2 separate regions of the Homo sapiens genome follow, and region 1 is linked to region 2. Evidence: promoter capture Hi-C in 16 types of primary human blood cells and fetal thymus (Javierre and others, 2016). All regions are on one chromosome and are shown on one strand. The core of a region is centred on a gene start or on the middle of the fragment in contact, and the rest is flanking DNA. Distances in the headings are between cores, read along the strand shown.

Region 1 (3,477 bases), core at 617-3,116, 170 kb before region 2:
TTTACATTCTGGATGTCAGCCTCAGGCCCCCACAGAAACCATGTTTTCTATCAGTGAACGGTAAAGGTCATCAGTGCTTTTCACCAGTTTTTTACTAAGGCAAGTCTGGTCTTGCAGCATCCTAGATCCTAGATTTTACAAATCCTTAGGCCACTGGTAATGTGCTCTGGAAATTTCTGCCCCCCTCTGCCTCTTTAACTTCATCCTGGTTGATCTCTCCTGCCTTTCTCCTGCATTGTCATCACTTCCTACAGAAACAAGAAATTCTCCTCTGACTTTTCATCATTTTCGCAATCATGGAAAATCTCTCTAAAAAACAAAGGTTTCCATTAATATTAAGTCAAGGTTATAGAGCAAAGTCTATTGAGAAAAAAGAGCTTTAACTTTTAACAAAAGCTTAGGAAAGTCACCATAAAAGTTATTTCTTAGGCCGAACGCGGTGGCTCACACCTATAATCCCAGCACTTTGGGAGGCCGAGGCGGGTGGATCACTTGAGGCTAGGAGTTTGAGACCAGCCTAATCAACATGGTGAAACCTCATCTCTACTAAAAATACAAAAATTAGCTGGTGTGGTGCACACCTGTCTGTAGTCCCAACTACTCAGCAGGCTGAGGCACGAGAATTGCTTGAACCTGGGAGGCAGAGGTTGCAGTGAGCCAAGATCGCACCATTGCACTCCAGCCTGGGAGACAAGGGCGAAACTCTGTCTCAAAAAACAAACAACTGGGCCAAGTGTGGTGGCTCACAGCTGTAATCCCAGCACTTTGGGAGGCCAAGGCAGGCAGATCACGAGGTCAGGAGATCGAGACCATCCTGGCTAGCATGGTGAAACCCCATCTCTACTAAAAAAAAAAAAAAAAAAAAAAAAAAATACCAAAAATTAGCCAGGCATGGTGGCAGGTGCCTCTAGTCCCAGCCACTTGGGAAGGCTGAGCCAGGAGAATGGCGTGAACCCGGGAGGCGGAGCTTGCAGTGAGCCAAGATCACGCCACTGCACTCCAGCCTGGGCGACAAAGCAAGACTCCGTCAAAAAAAAAAAAAAAAGCAAACAACTGTAACTTAACCATGCTTTTGAAACTTCTGATGTTTTTTCTCTACTTTTCTTCCAGGTGTCTATTTTAGAAAGGCGCAACACAGCAGGAAGGGTGGTGTATAAAACCCTGGAAGACCCTTGGATTGGGAGTGAGAGTGACAAATTTATCCTCTTGGGCTATCTCGACCAGCTGCGTAAAGATCCAGCTCTTCTGTCCTCTGAAGCAGTGCTTCCTGACCTGACCGATGAACTTGCCCCTGTGAGCATCGGGGCTGGGAAGGGTGGGACACCAGGAGGGCTTGTGAGTACACAGTGCTGGTGGCGGATTTCTGCTCAGAGCAGAGGTCCAGCAGCAGCACTGTGTTGCAGGGTAGAGGGACTCTCCCTTCCGGCTTTAGTCCTGACCATCATCCATTTTCTCTCTACATAGGTTTTTCTCCTTCGATGGTTCTACTCTGCTTCTGACTACATCTCAGACTGCTGGGATAGCATTTTTCACAACAACTGGTAGGGATATTGCCAGGCTGAATTTCTTTTTCTCTGTTAATACTGATATCACTGTTTTTCTTTTGAAAAGAGTTCATCATTATTAAATTTCAAGGTACACTTGATGGGGCAAGTGGAAGAACGTTTACACATTTTCTATTCCCCTTTTTCTTTCTTTCAGTAACTTCCCTTTTTTTTATTTTTTACTTTTTTTTTTTTTGAGACAAAGTCTTGCTCTTGTCCCCCAGGCTCAATCTGGGGATCACTGCAACCTCCGCCTCCCAGGTTCAAGCAATTCTCCTGCCTCAGCCTCCTGAGTAGCTGGGATTACAGGCACCTGTCACCATGCCTGGCTAATTTTTGTATTTTTAGTAGAGATAGGGTTTCACCATGTTGGTCAGGCTGGTCTCAAACTCCTGACCTCAGGTGATCCACCCGCCTCGGCCTCCCAAAGTGCTGGGCTTACAGGTGTGAACCACTGCTCCCGGACATTTTTTATTTTTTATTTTTTTTTGAGACAGAGTCTCACTCTGTCACTCAGACTGGAATGCAGTGGCACGATCTCAGCTCACTGCAACCTCTGCCTCCCAGGTTCAAGCGATTCTCCTGTCTCAGCCTCCCGAGAAGCTGAGATTACAGGCACCCACCACCATGCCCAGCTAATTTTTGTATGTTTAGTAGAGACAGTGTTTCACCATGTTGGTAAGGCTGGTCTCGAACTCCTGACCTCAGGTGATCCACCCACCTCAGCCTCCCAAAGTGCTGGGATTACAGGCGTGTGCCACCATGCCCGGCCACTTCCCTTTTTTTATATTGGCTGACTGACCCTTTCCCACTGGCTAGGAAAGGATCACCCATGGCTGCCATTCTGGGCAGCAGAGCCTGGGACTGTCTCTTCATCAGGGAACCTCTGGTGCCCAGCACAGGGCCTGACACACGTGGAGTCCAGTGTATAGATGTAAAAGGAATGAGTGAATTAACCTCAAGAGGGATACCCACTCCCACCTACTGATGAGACCATGAGCCCCTGAAGGACAGAACCACATCTCATTCGTGTTTGTGATTCCTGGCACCCAACACAGCACCTGACAAATGACAGCCTTTGATGGGTGTTGGTAGGTACATAAAATTTCAGAACACCAGTCCTAGATGAAATCTTGAAAGATCAATTTTATCTCCCTACTCCACCCCTCTGGGCTACATCTGAATTTTTCTGGCCAGAAAAAAATCAGTAAAGTTGAGGAAATAATTCCACAATGTCAGAAAATTCTTCCATGTTTACACCTTAAGTCCTTTATTATCCCTTTTATTGTTTCCTCATGCAGAACTTATTGAGCATAGCCTATTATACTGAGATACAAAATCAAACTTTTAGAATAAGCTGTCTGTGAATTAGAACACTGAGCAATCTCTACCTTCCCCTCCACCACCTCCACCCGCCAAGAAAAGCTCTGTTTGCCTGAAATTAGTAAGCGTTTATTGGTGTGAAGAGTTTTTGGTTTGGGATTTTTATTTTATCTTTTTTTAGCTGGAGAGAAGAAATTTTAACTTGAGCTAATAGTTTGTTAATTTGGTTTTAGGAGGGAAATGATGCCCCTGCTGTCCCTGATCTTCTCTGCCCTCTTCATCCTCTTCGGCACTGTCATCGTTCAGGCTTTCAGGTAAATGTCCTGTGGCTTCTCGGTGCACCACCATGGTTGGTGTTGACACTTTTTTTGTAAAACTCCTTTTTTCTTACTTTAGCGACTCTAATGATGAGCGAGAGTCAAGCCCTCCAGAAAAAGAGGAAGCCCAAGAGAAGACTGGGAAAACTGAGCCAAGCTTCACCAAAGAAAACAGCAGGTTTCTCTAACAAAACACCAGACTCACCTCCCCGGCACCTGCCCCCCAGATCCTGTCATCTGATAACGCAGCATTGGAACATAGAGTGTAGAGAAGAACTCTCATGCACCTCCTC
Region 2 (3,391 bases), core at 892-3,391:
GCACCCCTGGGCATCCTGCCCGACAGGTAGCGAATGGAGGTCGCTGGGGGCAGAGGGTCCGAGCCCTGTGGGCTCTGCGGATGCACGCCCTCCTCCCGGGCCTCCGCCTCAGTCTGCAGAATTTCTGCCGAGTGGCACCGAGAACACCATCCATCTAAGGACGAACAAAAGAACCAGGAGGGCGGGACCCCCCTCTTCCTCTCCTGGGTTGGGGGCTGGGGCCCTGAGTGCCCAGCCATCCTTGTTCGTGTTTGAACACTCTCCTGGCCACGTGGGGAAGCGGGAACACGGGGTGTCTGCGCATGTTTCCTCCTCCTAGCTCCATCACTGCGCACACAGCTGCCTGCCTCGCCAGATGCAGGGGGGCGGGCAGCCCTCCCTGGCTGCCAGGAGGCTCTGCATGCCCACAGTCCTGCCCTGCCTGTCCCCTCAACCCGGCAGTGCCTGTAGCACCGAGGAGCAAAGGGGGTGGATGGGGGGCTTGGAGAAGGGCGGAGCCCACCAGCCTGGCATCCATGTTGACATCTTCTGACTGTCCCCTGCTTGGCTGGAGCCAGGCCCTTCCCTAGAGTTTCGTCAAGAGCCTCCTGGGGAAGGGGTCAGGTGGTTTGGGTTTTGTTTTTTAAAATAAAATAGACATGTTATATTGCCAAGGCTTGTCACTGGCCCTTTTTGAGCAGGGTAGGGGAAGGGAGCTCTCCAAATCCCTTGGGCCCTTTTCTGCAAACCTTCCTCCATCATCTGCCCTGTGCCTGACACAAGGGACACACGGGACATGCAGAACCAGATCAGCCACCGCTGCCGGGCGGACTCACCGTCTGCAGACCCTCAGGCCCTGGGAGTTTCTCGGCCCGACCTTTGCCCTCCGTCCTGTTCCTGTTTGCTGCAGCAGCCAGGGGAGGAGCAGCCACCAGCTCAAGCCCCAGGGCACGTCTGCACCGCCGCCCACCATCTGCAGCCCACCCCGGGGCAGGACGCTCCTGCCTCCACAGCCCCGGGGGTGAGTGCCCAAACCCAGGAGAATCCAAGCTGTCCTCGCTGCCTCTTGCTGCGCCGTCCCCTCCAGGGCTGGCCAGAGGGTGACAACCCTGCCAGGCCGGGAGCCTGAGGCCCTCAAGCCACTCAGCATTGCTGCCTCAAGGGCCTGGGAGGGAAGGGGTGGGCCCTGGGAGGTGGGTGTGGGACTCCAACTTGGGTGGTTCTGCCTCTAGTTTGGACTGGGCCTTGGGTGACTGAGGGTGGCCTGGCAGGAGAGAGCTGTCTGGGGGCAGAGGCCAAGGTGGGCATGTTGGTACCGGCCCCAGCCTGAGCAGACACACCTGACAGCTGGCCCAGGTGGCGTTCTCTTCTCAGCGGGCACAAAGGGCATCCCAGGGCAGGCCTGGCAGCAAGTCCTTACCAGCCAAGGTCACTCCTCAAGTCCTACTCACCCAGGTGCCCTGAAGTCCTGGGAGCAGCGAGGGGGGCATAGGAGCCAGAGGCAGTGGGGGTGGGGGCGAGCAGGCGATGCGGGTGCCTTTATCGGGTGCAGCACTGACCTAGGCACACTCTTCTCATCGCCAGTCCTCCACAGAACCTTCTGGAGTGGATGTCAGTATCTCCATTTTACAAATGAGAGAAACTGAAGCTCTGAGAGGAAGTGACTTGCCCAGGGGTCACACATGAGAGCCACACCTGGGATTCCAATCAGCTCCCCAGGGCTCCAGAGCCCTTCTCTACTTCTGACCCTGCTGAGCATGGGCCTATAGACGGTGGGAGCCAGACTGAAGACTTGAGTCCTGGAAAGGGGAAGTCAGTCACCAGGGGCATATCAGGGGCAGGGTGGGGCAGGGGCGGAGTTGGCCGTGTACCCCATGCCAGGGACCTCCCAGTCACTTGCCCCCTGCCTAGGGCTCTGCCAAAGCTGGACAGGCTAAGCCAGAGGCAAGGCAGGGGTGCCAGCCCTTTGCCCAGGGCCAGAGGGAGGCCAGGAGGAGGTGCCTGGGCTGGTTGGCACCTTCTCCCTATCCACGCTCTCCCTCCAGTCCCAAGTGACCTTTCCCCCAGATCCCAGGGTCCAGGCCCGCCCTCGGCTGGCAGGTGTGGGCACAGAGGCAGCTGGGATTGGTCGCAGCTGGCGGAGGCGCGTCCCAGGCTCCGGCAGACCGCTGGAACAGCTGAGCAGAGCAGGTGGACTGCTGAGATAGACCAGGGACACCAGGCAGCCACAGGCCTGTCAGACCAGGACCCTTACCCTCTAGACATGGCCTCGGTCCCCTGCAAACCCCAGCCCCGTAGCCCTGCGAGGTTACAGACAGCCTAAACGCCACCACCACAGGGCCTGTGCCGTGCCCCTGACCCGGGCACAGAAGGCCACTGGCCCGGAGGCCATGGAGACGGTGCCCCCAGCAGTGGACCTGGTGCTGGGTGCTTCTGCCTGCTGCCTGGCCTGTGTCTTCACCAACCCCCTGGAGGTGGTGAAGACGCGGCTGCAGCTGCAGGGGGAGCTGCAGGCCCGGGGCACCTACCCACGGCCCTACCATGGCTTCATAGCCTCTGTCGCTGCTGTGGCCCGAGCAGACGGGCTGTGGGGCCTGCAGAAGGGGCTGGCTGCCGGCCTTCTGTACCAAGGCCTCATGAATGGCGTTCGTTTCTACTGCTACAGCCTGGCGTGCCAGGCTGGCCTCACGCAGCAACCAGGTGGCACCGTGGTTGCGGGAGCCGTGGCGGGGGCACTGGGAGCCTTCGTGGGGAGCCCTGCTTACCTGGTGAGTGGCTTGTCTCCATCGTCCACCCTCCACCATCCCATGACCCAGCTCCCACAGGGGCCCTGCAGCCTCCAAAGGCAGGGCTCAGTGGACCTGGGTGGGGTGGGGCAGCCGGGGTGGGGCTGCTCCCTGGAACATCCTAGCCCAAGCCTGGAATCTGCCCCTTGGCCCAGGGCCTTGCTCTGATCCATGCTCCCCTGCGGTCCCTGCCCCACTGGTCCTGAGCCAGGGGAGGGGGCAGAGGGTGTCAGATGTGCTGGCTCAAATCCTGGCTTGGTTACTTCTCTTCCCGCATGGCCTCATGTACGATAAGAATAAAAGCTACCCTTGAGGGCCTCCGCCTCGTGTGCACTCTGCAGGGGGGCCTCAGGGCCACCCAAAACAAATAAAAAATTAAAAAATGTTTTGAAGAAAGCTACCCTTGGCTGGGTGCAGTGGCTCACGCCTGTAATCCCAGCACTTTGGGAGGCCGAGGCGGGCAGATCACCTGAGGTCAGGAGTTTGAGACCAGCATGGTCAACATGGTGAAACCCTGTCTCTGCTAAAAAGTACAAAAATTAGCTGGGCGTGGTGATGCATGCCTGTAATCCCAGCTACCGGGGAGGCTGAGGCAGGAGAATCACTTGAGCCCAGTTGGCAGAGCT

What was found. Contacts are between HindIII fragments. The CHiCAGO score rates a contact against its expected background, and 5 or more counts as called.
Region 1: a contact is called between a fragment that was not itself captured here and the fragment with the promoter of SLC25A34 in region 2, in 1 of 17 cell types (endothelial precursors). The highest score is 6.7, in endothelial precursors.

The regions. Positions count from the first base shown.
Region 1 is chr1:15,562,819-15,566,295 of GRCh38, forward strand. DNAJC16 (DnaJ heat shock protein family (Hsp40) member C16) reads left to right here. Exons shown (of 15, transcript NM_015291.4): 10 at 1,111-1,293; 11 at 1,465-1,541; 12 at 3,101-3,181; 13 at 3,264-3,362. Among named protein-coding and RNA genes, the nearest start is that of AGMAT, 20 kb to the right of the region's middle. The HindIII fragment of the contact is 2,945 bases long and covers 395-3,339 here.
Region 2 is chr1:15,734,117-15,737,507 of GRCh38, forward strand. It overlaps SLC25A34 (solute carrier family 25 member 34), which reads left to right and starts at 2,142. Exons shown (of 5, transcript NM_207348.3): 1 at 2,142-2,747. The coding sequence starts at 2,370. It overlaps PLEKHM2 (pleckstrin homology and RUN domain containing M2), which reads left to right. Exons shown (of 20, transcript NM_015164.4): 20 at 1-653. RefSeq lists enhancers at 476-1,241, 1,242-2,008. The HindIII fragment of the contact is 4,526 bases long and covers 1-3,391 here.